Linked DNA regions of Homo sapiens: region 2 is linked to region 1. Evidence: promoter capture Hi-C in 16 types of primary human blood cells and fetal thymus (Javierre and others, 2016). All regions are on one chromosome and are shown on one strand. The core of a region is centred on a gene start or on the middle of the fragment in contact, and the rest is flanking DNA. Distances in the headings are between cores, read along the strand shown. Region 1 holds the start of RTTN (rotatin). Region 2 has its middle 110 kb from the start of LINC01910.

Region 1 (7,580 bases), core at 3,454-5,953:
AACAAAAATAATAAAAAATAATGTGTTAGGAAGAAAACTACACATAGGAAGTGATCACTGGCTAGAATCACCAGGAAGGTCTCTGATGAGGTGGCATGTGAGCTGAGGCTGAACACAGCCAGATACAAAAAGATGGAGATGAGATTCCAGATTCCAGAAACAGGGTTCTAAATCAGAACTTTTTAATTAACTGGGTGGTGAGGAAATGGGAAAAGAAACTAAAATGATCTTCAGCCTCTGGCTGGCGTAACTGGATAGATGGTGCCATCGTTAAGCTGGAGAACAAATGAGATGACATGTGTAGTGCAGGGCACAATGCCTCAAAAAACTCATGTTCGGCCGGGCGCGGTGGCTCACGCCTGTAATCCCAGCACTTTGGGAGGCCGAGGCGGGCGGATCACGAGGTCAGGAGATCGAGACCATCCCGGCTAAAAAAAAAACGGTGAAACCCCGTCTCTACTAAAAATACAAAAAATTAGCTGGGCGTAGTGGCGGGCGCCTGTAGTCCCAGCTACTTGGGAGGCTGAGGCAGGAGAATGGCGTGAACCCGGGAGGCGGAGCTTGCAGTGAGCCGAGATCCCACCACTGCACTCCAGCCTGGGCGACAGAGCGAGACTCCATCTCAAAAAAAAAAAAAAAAAAAAAAAAAAACTCATGTTCATTCAGTACGACATACTACTGCCATTAATACCATCCATCTACACAGTTGTTCAAATATGGTTAGAATAACACAAAATTTTATCATTTCTACTCGATATCCTAAACTAACTTGAAACAACTAAAACATTTAATGATAGTTTGGTGCTGAAACATTCAAGTTTGGTAAAAATACATCTTCACAATAACGAAAAAAGTACATTAATTTTCAACTTCCCAAGTCAACAGGATTTACTTCCCGACATATACACACCCACTGGTCGTGGCGGCACTTCCATCTGCTGGAAATTACTTTTGTCTTGGGGAAAATATCCTGTTAAGATTTCAGGGTTTTTTGACAATTCTGAAAAGGAAATAAACATTACTGTATTGTCGATTCCTTATTTGCTAAAAGTGAAACTTACTTTCTTTAAGTGGTAATGTTTTCTCTTAAGTATTGGAATCATTTTAAAAATTAAAAAAAAGTCCAGTTTTTTTTCTGAATGATCTATCTTGCTAAAGAGGAAAAAATGTGCACATTGAGCCCACTTCCAGTTAAGAAGCTTTTTCCCTCTCACTTTTACTGTTAGCCAAACACAGTTATTTGTTAGAATGTACACGAAGAATCTGCTACAAAGTATTCAAGGACTATCCCTCTCTACTTCCTAATCCATCTCCCTCTCCCTTGACTCCAATTATATAGTTCCTGATCACTTCAATTTTCATTCATACCTTAAAAAGAAAGTTGTCAAAAACAAAGGAGTCAAATATTATCTTTCAATACCTTTACAATTCCCTATAACATGCGATTATATGTTCAGCAGTTCAGCTGCAATGAAAATGAGGAAAAGGCTAAAACTATAGTTTGTAATTTTAAGTTTTCATGGCAATAGTTCCTAACACTAATAAAGAAAAATAACATTTAGCCCTAAACCATTCCTCTACTTTCACCCGCAAGGAATCAGATTAAAAATTCACAGTGTAAGACTCTACTTTATTTGTGATGTCTTCGAAACTGTAAAATATATTGTTAAAAATCACAGGTTTGGGAGCCAGATAAAGCAATGTTAGAATCCTGCATCTGCTACAGGTTAGAAAACTTGGTACTGTGGGGCAAGTTACTTTATACTTTTATTCTCAGCTATAGAGTAAGACTAATAACATCTCAGTCAAAAGGCTGCTTTAAGATTTAACAAGATGATGTGTTTAAATCAATGTATTCAATGCCCACAACAAAACTCAATAAATGACAGCTGCTATTGTTGTTGTGAACCGCAGTACCCACAGCTGAAGCTGTAACAGTACTGGCAGAGAAGAAAATATGGTCTAACAGGTTAAGCATCAAAACTTTTTTTTTTTTTTTTTACTTTTACTACTCAGTCACATAAATTGCATGAAGATGTTTTTCTTCAAATCAATTCAAATGCATTCCATGTGCAAGGCACTATACTAGGCATTAACAACAACACAACAGCAGCAGCACAGCAGCCAACACAGCCACATTTCATACATGCTGGGCCCTGTGCTAAGCACTTTACAGACATTGTCTCATCTAATCTCATGACGATTCTATGAGAAAGTGTTCTTTTTTTTTTTTCGAGATGGAGTCTTGCTCTGTCACCCAGGCTGGAGTGCAATGGAGTGATCTCAGCTCACCGTTGCAACCTCCGCCCCCCGGGTTCAAGTGATTCTCCTGCCTCAGCCTCCCTACTAGCTGGGATTACAGGCGCCCGCCACTATGTCCGGCTAATTTTTGTATTGTATTTTTAGTAGTGACGGGGCACCATGTTGGTCAGGCTGGTCTTGAACTTCTGACCACCTGCCTCGGCTTCCCAAAGTGCCGGGATTACAGGCGTGAGCCACCATGCCCAGCCCGGTGTTCTTTCTTATTATCCCAGTTTTTGAATGAGAAAACTGAAGCCTGGAAGGGTTAATTACCTTAGCCAAGGTCACACAACTAGCAGCAGAACTGAGACTTAAATCCATGTCTCTTTGACTTGGATTTTAACAAGTATATCATGATGGACTGCAGCATATAAAAATACTTGCATTATGTCGTTTTGATTGGTCCCCACAACAAGATCATGAGCTAGGACAGATATCATTATACTCCAATATGACGAACAAGGTCAAAAATACAAATATAAAGCACTAAGAACAATGAGCACTCATGTGCTCAATAAAAATACATTGTTATTGCCAAAAAAATAATCTGTCAAACTGGCCTCATAAAAGCAAAGTCACTGGCATCGTTTAGGCCTGACCCAAAAAGCAATTAATGCAAATGTACCATCCTTTGACTAACAGTAGAGGAGGGGAAAAAGGTCAAAATCATGTAAGTTAACACAAGAAAAATAAGTTTGGGGGAGGTGGGAGAAATCCTTTTTAAAAAAATCTAATCTCCCTTTCCTTAAAATTTACCATTAGAATTAATATATTTGTATTTAACAGATTCCAAAGAGTTACCAGTTTGATTGGTTTGGTATGAGGCAGAAGATAGTGCAGGAACTTCCGAAGGAAGAAGAAAAAGTCCATCCAGAATGCCATCAATTTCAGCCTGCAGATTTGGCTCCACATTAGACCGAAGCTTAGATAAGAACTCTACTGCACCAACGTCAACCAAATGTTGGACTGCTGGGGGATACTAAAATAAGAAGAGGATGATCTTGAGAATAACTGTATCAAAATCTCTATAACTTACAGCAATCAAAACATAAAATTATTTTTGGTATATCAGATGTTCCTTTTCTGAAAAACAAATCCTTCATGGCTCTGCCCCGAAGTAAGGCACTTCCATGAGGAGCACATACACCTATAGAGACATACATCCAACACTTGATAACATTTATGAAAGATGAGCCAACACACTGAACGCTAGAAATGCACATTATCAATCCCTACTCTTATTTTTTTAATGGGTTACTTTTTTCCACTGACACTCACCTTATGGTCCCAGCCCCAACCGGTCAACAGGATGTCAAAGTAGTTTAAGATTCCTCTACCATTGTACAGTGATTTAGTTTTGAAAGGTTAAACTTACACTTTGATATCTGACCCCGATAACTAACTACTCTTGAGGTAGGCATAAGAATACCAATCTAAAAGCATATGGGCAAGCAACTTAACATTGGTATTTATGAATCACGGTTATGTAACATTATTTTTAAAGTGCTCCCTTTCATACTGACATATCTAGTTTTTAAGATGTAAATGTCAGAAAACAAAAACAGAATACAAATATTAACCTCCAAAGATAACTCAAAAACACAGAACATACCAAAACTCAAAAGAAGTTCTGTGTTACTTCTGAGCACAGCAGAGACCATGTGGGATTCAGTATCACAAATAAAAGATGAACCATATACCCAGATTAATTAAAATTAAACATCTCTGGTTGATTAAAAAAACTTTTAACCCCAATTATTTAACTTTCAATAAACGCTACAATTAAATGACTAAGAAACAAGTCACTCGTCTGATTATTTTCTTTATTTCAAAATGACCCTACCTTAACCAATCTGCTTAACAGGTTCAGAACCTCTTCCTTCATCGGAACGGACGGGAAATTGAACCATTCCAGCAAATGAAGAAAAAGTTGCCTCTCCTGAATGAGATCAGCGTAGCAGATTAAGTTGTGCTCAATCTTGCAGAGAATACTCTTGAGAGCGCGCTCCCTGATCTCGGCCAGCTGATGACCTGTCAACGAACGGCACAAAACTATTTTATTTCCCGACTGCAAAGAGACTACGTTATTTATGCTGTGGGCAGGAGCGGCGTGAAGACGGAATAAACCAGTTTTTTTCAGAAGCAGGCCACTGGTGCCTTCGGGACGCGAACCGCGAAGTTTACACAAAGTCCGAGATGGGTCCCCGGGGGCTATCCTGACAAAGCGGGGGTGAAAGAGGGAGCGGTCGCGGAGCGGCCGGCCGCGGAAACGTGACACGACCATTCTCAGCAAGTGGCCAGAGCGCGGGGGGTGCCTTGGGCGAGGGGCAAGCTGACAGTTACCGAGTTTCCTGATGAGCCCTGCCAGGACCATCTCGTCCCGTCAATCTGCAGCCGCCGGAGAATTAAACTGCCGCGCCACTGCGTCCAGCCACAATTAATGTACCCCCGGAAACACGTCCTGTGGGACGGTGAGTTCCGCAACGCCTGCGCTCACCAGGAGTAGGAGTCATTACGTGAGCCCTTCGCGGCCCCAGCGTCGCCAGGAGAGCTTCCAGCCTCTCTAGAATCACTACTGCGCACTTCCTGGACAGCAGTCTCCGTCGCAAGAAGCGGAGGGAAAAAAAAAAGCAACAAGCAGGGATAGAACCAGCGTTGGCCGCCGCGCACGTCGGGAGTTGTAGTTCTGGCTAGGCCGTGCGTCCTGCACCGATCTCCGGGCCCGCCGCGGCGCCCGCTGGCCTGGGGTTCCGGCTTACAGCGCGGGAATTCGGGAACCCAGCGCGGGCTGCAGAGGCCCCAGCAGGAGCCCCGCCTCCCGGCTCGTCGACGGATTCGTTCTTGGCCCTGCCAATCTGATTCTCAGCTCCCAGAACTTCACGATTTAGAATGTAGACTTTTGCTTTGTGACAGTTCTCCCCATCCCCGACTACTAAATGACGAACCCTCTTTAACTGTGAAATGTACCTGCAAAGTCAAGCAGTGTCTTTGGATACCCAAGTTCAGATATGAACAAGCAAGCTACAAAAGCGGGGTGGGCGGGTATGAGTGAGCAGAAGAGAGAAACCGGGCTGCAAAAAAGGAAAATAAAGGCGGGACGTGGGGGTATGATTTGCTGAATGGTACCAAAGTTGATTTTTTGCACCGTGCACAGTGATCGAGCTGAGCAAATTATTTTTTTTTTAATTATAAGCAGCGGTAAGAACAACAACAAAATTACATTTGGAAAATGATTTGCATTTTCTCGGTCTGATCATTTCACGTTCCCTGGGAAAGGGATGTCAAGGCAGGTAAAGTGGGCCCTCGGTATCCCTAGGTAATTGGTTCCAGGACCCCCGCAGATACCCAAATCCACCCATGCTTAAGTCTCTTTTATAAAATGGTGTAGTATTTGCATATAACCTACACACATCCTCCTATATGCTTTAAATCATCTCTAGATTGCTTACAATACCTAATACACTGTAAATGCTATGTAAATAGTTGTTACACTGTACTTTTATTCATATTATTTTTTAATTGTTGTATTGTTATTTTCAACTGTGGGGTTTTTTCCCGAATATTTTCCATCCCGTGTGTTGAATTCTCTGTGTGCAACCAGTGGACAGCAAAGGCCTACTGTATTCCCATTCCTATTTTGCCAAAGAGGAAACTTAGAATCACAAAAGTACCCCCACACAAAGTCACATTAACTAGTAAGTGACAGATTGAGGAGCTGACCTGATGTTTCTTTGTTCTATTTAGAGTGCCTTGCTGCCTCCTCATGTGTGTCAATAGGAGAGTGATGATATTTGAGTTGGATCTTAAAGAGTAAGTAGGAGTTTGCCACACAAAGAAGTTGGGTAAGGAAATTCCTGCAGGAGAAACCTGTATTTGCAAAGGCAAGAATCCAGACGGAGTGTGTCAAATTCGGGAAAAGAACAAAATTCAAGGTGGCCATATTATCTCTGGGAAGAAGAGAGGAAGGGCAAGATTGCTGCTAGCATGCTGGATATTCTCCATTCCACCTTCTAGTGGTTCCTCCCAGCTCTTCCAGCTCTGCATCAACTGACCTGAACAGGCAAAAAGACTGCACTATCCAGGCTGCCTGGCCCTCTGGCTTCCAGTTGGTTGCCGCCGATAGGAGGCATCAGCAGGAAATTGGAAAGTAGGAGGAAAGAGATACGGATATTAAACCAAGATTCCACTAGCCCATGCCTAAGCCTGCCTGGCCAAGATTGTAACAGTGGCTGAATTCCTTGACCCAAAGACCACATGTCCTGATGGATAGCATACCACAGTGGGCACTGCAGAACCAGTTACACCAACTCAGAAGTGTCTGTAGTTATCCAGGAAGGAAGGTGTTAATTACGGATTTGAAGTGTCAAGGTCAAAAAACACATGACAATACAGAAAAATAATAGAAATAACTTGTCAATGATGTTTCTGAGATGAACAATCTTAGGTGATGAGAGACTGTAGATGCAGTGGGGTAAGGGGCGATAATACTGTAGAAGAAATATAAAAAATCCATTGACTTAAAACAAGCATGTTACAAGTAAAATGGGGGTCAAACTATGAAAGGGTTTTACTTATGTTGCACCCAAGGTCAACATAAACATTTTATTTTATTTTCATTGTTGAGCATATATTGCTCCTGTAATTAGACAAAAATAATTAAATCCCATTCATTACATTCAAAGCAAATAATCTATCATTCTCCTATTAGACTATTGATTCAGCAATTTTTCCTAAAAAAAAATCAACCTTTGATTTATTAATTCTACTATTTAAAAACACACATATATATTCTAGTGTATTGACTGTATTATTTTTTACCAGTTACTTCACTCTGTCGCCCAGGCTGGAGTGCAGTGGTGTGATCTCCGCTCACTGCAACCTCTGCCTCCTGGGTTCAAGTGATTTTCCTGCCTCCACCTCCCACATAGCTGGGATCATAAGCATGAGCCACTATGCCCAGCTAATTTTTGTATGTTTAGTAGAGATGGGTTTTCGCCACAATGACCAGGTTGGTCTCGAACTCCTGACCTCAAATGATCCTCCTGCCTCGGCCTCCCAAAATGCTGGAATTACAGGCGTGAGCCACCGCACCTGGGCTACATCCTTCTTTAAGTGTGTTTTGCTGTTCTTTTTTTAACTTCTTAAGCTAAAGGTCTTGTTTACATTCTTTCTTTATTAGTTATAGAGAATTTTAAGTCCATGAATTTGCATGTAAAAAAAGTTTTAATCATGTATCATGAGTTTCAATTTGTAAGGTTTTGTTCTCAGCCAATCTGAAA
Region 2 (7,580 bases), core at 1,535-4,034, 290 kb after region 1:
ATTTTTTTCTTTTAATTTTTTTGTTTTTAGAGATGGGGTTTTGCTTTGTTGCCCAAGCTGCTCTTGAATTCCTGGGCTCAAGAGATCCTCCCACTTTGGCCTCCCAAAGTGCTGGAATTACAGGCGTGAGCCACCTCACCAGGCCAATTTGTTGTAAATTGAAAAACAGAGGATCAGAGATCCATTCTGTGGCAGGGCATCATAAGGAGAGGCCTGCCCTTGAAAGACCTGTCCCAGCAGCTCAGAGTTCATGTGGGGAGGGCTCAAGGCAATTTTCAATCAATCAGTTATGAACTGGGTTGTTTTAGGCACCTCCTCCTATTCACCCTGGTGGTGATAGAGGGTTTCCCACCCTAGGGTTGTAGAGATGGCCAAACCCACGGCACCTGACACCGGACAGGTGTCCAGCAGGGGATGGGGGAGGTAGGCTTTGTAGTAACAAGAGGAGGAGGATGTGATTGGATGGGGGAGGTAGGCTTTGTAGTAACAAGAGGAGGAGGATGTGATTGGCTTGTTTGGATAACTCCATGGGTTGGCAGGAAACTGAAGCCCGCTACTCAGGGATATATGTGGTCCCATGATAAGGAGTGTCCTTTAGCTAGGGTATTTTTCCCACAGGAGGGAGGGAACTTGAGGTAAGGCCATTGAAGGCCCTCCTGGTTTCCCAGATGTCAAGACAGCATACAAAACTGCATCTTAATTTTAGGCCTTACACCCATGTGTGGGTTAGGGATGTCAAAGGGAGAGTAGCATGTGGAGGCTAATAAATTAAAAATAATTAAATGAGCCAGACGTGGTGGCTCACACCTGTTATCCCAGCACTTTGGGAGGCCGAGGCAGGCGGATCACGAGGTCAGGAGATCGAGACCATCCTGGCTAACACAGTGAAACCCTGTTTCTACTAAAAATACAAAAAATTAGCCGGGCATGGTGGCAGGCGCCTGTAGTCCCAGCCACTTGGGAGGCTGAGGCAGGACAATGGCATGAACCTGGGAGGCGGAGCTTGCAGTGAGCTGATATCACACCACTGCACTCCAGCCTGGGCAACAGAGCGAGACTCTAAAAAATAAATAAATAAATAAATGGCTAGCCAAAGTAACCAGATTCCTTTTTTTCCTCCTTATAAGAGGCAGCCTACATTTAAGGAACAGTTCCACTGTGCTCTCTGAGTCACTTTCTTTGAACTTCATCATGGAGTATTCATAAGAGGCACACAGCTCACCCACCAGGGCAAATGAAGGGAAAAGTTCCAAAGAGGTGCTTCATGCCCCATAGCAGGTAATTTCTGAGCAGTGAATGTTTAGCGTCCCAGACATGAAATTTTAAATTTGGTTTTATACAAGGGTCCCAGGTACCTTCATACACCCACATATTTTTTAGCAAGCTTGTGCATGTGGGCCACAAAGCACAGAATGATTTCTTTCTGCAGACTAGATATGGAGTTTTTATTTATTTTTAATAATTTATTTTATCCTCTGGTGGGATTTTGTATATACTAGTGGATATTCTCCAAAGGCACATACACACAGAGGACATATTTACATGATAATTGCTCAGGTAGACAGGTGTGATGCTTGTACTCATTGAATATGGTGTGACTAATTTATTCCATCATGTCAAAGATCACTGTTGATACGAAGTTCTATTTATTGTCTTTGAGTGTGTTTTATACTATGCTGGGTTATCTGATTTTTATTTTTATTCCTGGGCATTGCTCTATTTTCTTCCAAGGGCCCACCAAATGAGATAGAGGTAAATGTCTAGGTCTGTATTCTCAGATTTTGCTACAGAAAATTATGTATTTTCTAGATTTTCTTTCCAGAGACCCTTAAGACCAAAACTGTGGTTTCTAATTGCACCACTTGTTCTTAATGTTTGGCCACTCATTTACTCCCATAAGGGTTTCCCTCTTCACTGAGAATAAATAGCCAAACCCCTGATTTGTCTCTTTCTTGCAAAGGTGGGTTAGAGTGGGGTGGTCCAGTACACGACTCTAGGAGTGAAGGAGCTGGCCTCACTCTTAAAATTGCAAGTGCTTTTTCCTATTTCCACTCAGTGGCTATGAGATCTGCAGCTCTCAGCCCCTGCCTGTGTGGCACCATCGTGACTCTGCCGAGCGTTCCCATCCAGTGTGGGGAAGGCAAGATTTAGGCCAGTTGTTAAAATCCTGATGAGAGTTAATGCATGCCGAACAGGGATTTACATTCTAGCTTGAGAGTCATTAAAAATGAATGCTATGCTGAGCTATTTTATCTTGGCTTTTGGATTTGGAAAAGCCTCTAATAAAAGCCTCTAAGAAAGACTATGAATAACTTGAAAGTCCCTTCATATTCATAATAGATATTTTGCAGCAAAGAATTTCCAATGTCCAGTTATAATCAGTGACCAATAGTCAGCCACCAGGGTGGGAATTATTACTCTCTGTGACTTCTCAGGCATCTGCTTAACCTGGGTAGGCAGAAAATGAGAATGTTTTATGTCAGTAAATTAAATCTGTTGCAGACAGATCAGCCATTTATGGTAGATGACAAGCCTTAGTCATCGTTTACTGTCAATAATAATATTGTAAGTATGTAGTGGGGATGGTGGGGGCTGTGATGTGTGTCAGTATCTCTATAATAGACTTCTCTCTAAGATGCAAGTATCCAGAGATACGTTTGGCAGATAATAGGTTCAGTTTTATGAGCTTTATTGTTATCTTGGTGATGTGCTGATACCTAAAATCTCAGCATAGGCATAGCTGCAGCAACTGGAACTGCCTGGGGTTATAGATTGCTAAATGTAATTATTCAAGCACAGTTGTGTTGACAGGTGACTTCAGAAATATAGAGATTCTAATCATGGCTCTGCAAAGTTTGGTGGAGATTGCTCCTTGAATAAATAAAATATAAAATTTATACTGATATCGTGTAAATGAGCTTCTAAGAAAGAGCCCTATTAATGAGAAGAAAGCACATTGCATTAGAGGTCAGATGTACTACTTTTAAAATATCTGAGACAGAAGAAGAAGAATTTTGCAAGCATTCATGGAGAGCATTTTTTGGATGTCACTTTAGGTTACTGGTGAGCACTGAAATAATTGAAATCCATTTCTGACTTCACAGATTGAATGAAATTACTTAAACAACACACATGTAGACAAAAAAAAGCCTCTGATTGAATATAAGCCCTATGTAAACAAAGAATGTTAGTTTAGGAGACTAGAAATTCATGTAAAAATATTCTTTTTAATCCTTGGGCTCATTAAAGGGAGCTAAATTGTGCCAGATTAACTGAATCCGGTATTTGGGGTATCCAGGCCATCTAAATCTCTCCCTCTACTCAATTGGGGCTTCCGCCTGCTAAGGAGGGGGAGTAGGGACTCAAAATATATCCAATATATTAAATAAAATATTCATTATAATTTATATAACTTGAAATTTAGTGCTCTTCCAACAGAGTTGCTAGATTTAGCAAGTAAAATTACAGGATGCCCATTAAAATTGAATTTCAAATCAACAAAGAATATTTCTTTTCACTTTTAATAAAGTTTATTTTTTAGAGCAGTTTTGGGTTCCCTGTAAAACTGAGCAGAAAATACAGAAGAGTTCCTATATAACTCCTGACCACCCTCCTCCCTCATATCTGCATCCCCCACCAGCAGAGTGGTACATGTGTTATAATTCATGAAACTATATTGACACATCATTATCACCCAAAGTCCACAGGTTACATTACAATTCACTCTTGGTGTTGTACTTTTGGTGTTGTATGGGTTTTGAGAAATGTATAATGATATGTGTCCACCATTATAGTATCATACAGAGTATTTTCACAGTCATAATGATCTGTGAATCTCTGCTTATTCATCCCCCTCTCCCTTAAACTCCTGGCAACCACTGATCTTCTTACTGCCTCCATAGTTTTTCCTTTCCCAGAATGTTGTAAAGTTGGAATTGTACAGTATGCAGTCTTTTCAGATTGGTTACTTTCACTTAGTAATGTGCCTTTAAGTTTCTTTCATATCTTTCCATGTCTTCATAGCCCATTTCTTTTTAGCCCTGAATCCTATTAATATTCCATTGTCTAGATGTACCACAGTTGACTTACTCATTCACCTGGTGAAGGACATCTTGCTTGCTTCCAAGTTTTGGAATTAAGAATAGAGCTGCTATAAACATCTGTGTGCAGATTTTGGTGTGGACGTAAGCTTTAAATTCATTTGGGCAAATGCCTAGGCGTTTGAATGCTGGATTATATGGTAAGAGTGTGTTTCCCTTTGTAGGAATATTTTTTTTCAGTTTAAGTATGTCCGTAGTGTTGCATGACATCCCTCCCTGCCAAAGATGGAGTGGCTTCCTGCAGTGCAGTGCGTGCAGAAGTCACAACATTTCTAGTCATGGTTGTGACCAATAGGGTAAACTTTTACATTTCTATCTGCCCCTCCAGTTGGGGTAACTCACCCCTACCCACTGGCTGGATACCTTGGCAGCCAATGGGGCTAGAAGGAGCCAGAGACCCCAATCGAGGATGGCTGGGCCAAGACACATTCTTGATCCTGGTTGTGCCAGCCACCCTTAAAATCCCTACTGGACTTGGTGCTGTGGGCTTAGAGGTGCCCTAAGTTCCAGAACTGCCTCTGGGCTTCTTGCCTTTTCTCTCATTCTCCTTCTGTACCATGCTGCTTTCTGGTGCCCAGGCGTTGTTCCTGCTGCTGCTGACTTTGTTCCCCTGAGCTGCTGGGTTCCGATGATACCAAAGATTCCTCAAGGTGGGCTGAAGCCTTCAGGATTGAGGCCCACGGTCTGGAAGGCATGAGCCCTTCTCCGTGGAGCTGTTTGAGGTCAGAAGGAAAAGCAGCCCCTCCTGTGTCAGGGCGATGGCAGTGCCGGGTGTTGCACAGGCTGGGTTCGGCATGACCACTTCCGCTTCCCTGCCAAGATCGCTGTCGCTCAGCCAGTTCTTGAGGCGAGGCTCCAAAGCGGTGGCGTCAAAGCTGGCTGCTCAGTGGAGGCCCCTAGGGAGCTGTGAACGCCCCCGTGGGCAGGCCTCATCAGGCTCAGTAAGTCAGGAGGCTCAAGGTCGCCGCAGGCAGGGGTATTCTGAGTCTCTGAGGGCGGAACCCCTGGTCTCCGGGGAGCTGCCGCTGGGCCCCAGCTGGGGGCACCATGGAAGGCATTTCCGCCCCGGGCACTTTGCCTAGCCGGCTGTCCCCGAAGCCACAGCCTTCTCACTTCCGGGAGTCGAGGCCCTAGGCTGACCTCAGGTGCTAGGGTGCGTCCCTGGCCGCCGTGGGGCCCATTACCTGACGCGGAGCAGCCGTGGGCGCCGTGCGTGCCGGTTCCCTGCGTGCCTGGACCCAGAATGGACCAGGCTGGAGTGCGACGGTGATTTGAGGCAGTCACTGATTATTTCTATGCCTCCGTGGACTCTTCTTTTGGAAAATCTAAGTTCCCTAAAACTCTAACAGTTAATCTGATAAAATGGGACATAAAATACATATTTTTCCTTCCATGTGATGTGAGGAAGTTGAGCTTCAAAAAAACGGTCACAAAAACAAAGAGAGTGCCTGGCGGCCTGGACTCCGGATCCTGTGAAATAAACCCGGCCGGAGCTGCTCTTGTCTGAGGACAGGAGTTCTTGAATCACCTTATTCCTGCGAATAAAGGTGTCCCTCCCACTTGTCAAGCTCTTGAACTGGGTGAATAAACCCAATTTTTGTAAAATCATAATGTTAATTGACTAACGGTGGAAACAAAAATTTAATCATAAGGTTTGTGAATAGGCATGGATTCCAAGCAAAGAGACTGAGATGCTTTAAAATAGATGTTTTTCATCAACCTGTCCACAAAAGAGGCTGTTTTGCCGGACATCCTGGCAGTCATTGATGTCTGAGATTTTTCTGGGACTGTGGATAGGAACGGTCACATGCAAGCTGTGACTCTCATTGTTCTGTGCTTCCAGGGAAGACGAGCTACCTTTTGAATTAAAAGGTAAATAAGCCATTAGGTTAATGTTTATTCTTGCAATTTACGAGCAGTTTTTTTTTTCAATTCGCATATTTGTGCTCCAGTTACCTTAATTTTGTACTTCAATTTCAGATGCAATTCTTCTATTCTTAATATATTCAGGTCTCATTTCAACCAAAATATAAGGCTTTTTAAAGCTAGAGAAATATGTGAGTGATTATGTTTGCTGATAATTAAACACCTCAGCATCACGTATAATCAAGTAAACTTTATTCATTGAGACAAAAATAGATAAAATACAGAAAAACCAAGAAAATAGTTTCATGGATCTGGTTTCAATTCTGTACAACCACCATTTTGGGAGTCCTACTATGTGTCAGGCACAGGAGCTCGTTATTGGATCAACAAGAGAAAGATAATGTCCTATCTATAAGGTGATGACAGAGGAAATGGATATGTTATAGATAATTTTTATTAAATGGTCAAAGGCAATTTTAGATTTAGATAATATTTGGCTATAATTTTGTTATAAAATGTGCACTTAAATTTTAAGGCTTTTAAATGGTAATGATATAAATGTTGCATTGAAATTTCAGTACTAATAATGATCACGTGATGTACTGATACATAAGTCCAGGGAAGAAATAGCCATATAACAGAAGAAACCTCTGATGGTTCTAATCCCTGAATATAGGTTAATGTTTCATGACTTACTAATTTTATTAGTAAAACAGAAAGAATATTGTATAGCGACTTGTACTTATATGAACACAGATATATTCCAATTATTATGTAGTATTTCTTCATGGTCTAAAAAGGGAGTAATCTAAAAAAGACATTTAATATGACCATGACTTGGCATTGGAGAGTTAAAGTGGGTTTACTCTGATTTGCTTTAATAAGTGCTTTATTTTTACATTTTTATTATTAAAAATAATCTCAGAATTTTCTGGTCTTCCTAACGAGGGGAGAAATAAATTTTCAGAATTTTGAGCTAGAGAATATTTGCACTCATATTTCGCCTTTGCTATAGAATTCTAACCAGTATTTGCTGTTGCAAATAAATCTTCTAAAAAAAGAATGGCTAAAAAAATTGCTACTAGATGTGCACCAAATGTTTTTCTAACAGGCAGTTAAACTGGATTATATAAATCAAATGTAATGATGGTTTTTAAGTCACCGTTTTCTCCAGGTCCATTTCATTTTATGATTCTGTCATCAGGTTTCTTTGGTGACAGGCAGGCTTCCTCTGTCTTTTTTCTGCATTCTTGTCATTTTATGTCGGCTTTATTCTTTAATTTGAACTTGAATCACGTCATCTATTCTTTCTTTTTTCTCCTTTAGTTTTGCTTTAGTTATTTCGATTCTACACCTTATATGTTCTTTCTAAGTATTTCATACACAAATAGCTTTTATCTCAAGTACTGAGAACTCTTCTAACCTATATAGGTTTTCTTTACTTTAGGATATGATCCAAAAATATTGAGTTGAATGGACTTACTGGATTAAAAAGGCTGTGATTAAGTATGTTAATTTACATTTTGATTTGTGAAAATCAAAGTTGATTAGCAGTATAATGAACATATTTGAAATAATTTGGGCTCTTTTAGCCAGAATTAGAATAAGATTTGT

What was found. Contacts are between HindIII fragments. The CHiCAGO score rates a contact against its expected background, and 5 or more counts as called.
Region 2: a contact is called between a fragment that was not itself captured here and the fragment with the promoter of RTTN in region 1, in 4 of 17 cell types (monocytes, M2 macrophages, M1 macrophages and 1 more). The highest score is 15.9, in monocytes.

What each region holds. Positions count from the first base shown.
Region 1 is chr18:70,200,984-70,208,563 of GRCh38, forward strand. RTTN (rotatin) reads right to left here and starts at 4,704. Exons shown (of 49, transcript NM_173630.4): 1 at 4,645-4,704; 2 at 4,145-4,332; 3 at 3,103-3,280; 4 at 911-1,000. The coding sequence starts at 4,675. LOC105372180 (a long non-coding RNA gene) reads left to right here and starts at 4,806. Exons shown (of 3, transcript XR_935599.3): 1 at 4,806-5,591; 2 at 6,046-6,111. RefSeq lists enhancers at 4,404-4,533, 4,744-4,853, 4,772-5,401, 4,864-5,103. The HindIII fragment of the contact is 5,232 bases long and covers 3,222-7,580 here.
Region 2 is chr18:70,494,378-70,501,957 of GRCh38, forward strand. No RefSeq gene overlaps it. Among named protein-coding and RNA genes, the nearest start is that of LINC01910, 110 kb to the left of the region's middle. The HindIII fragment of the contact is 2,805 bases long and covers 1,383-4,187 here.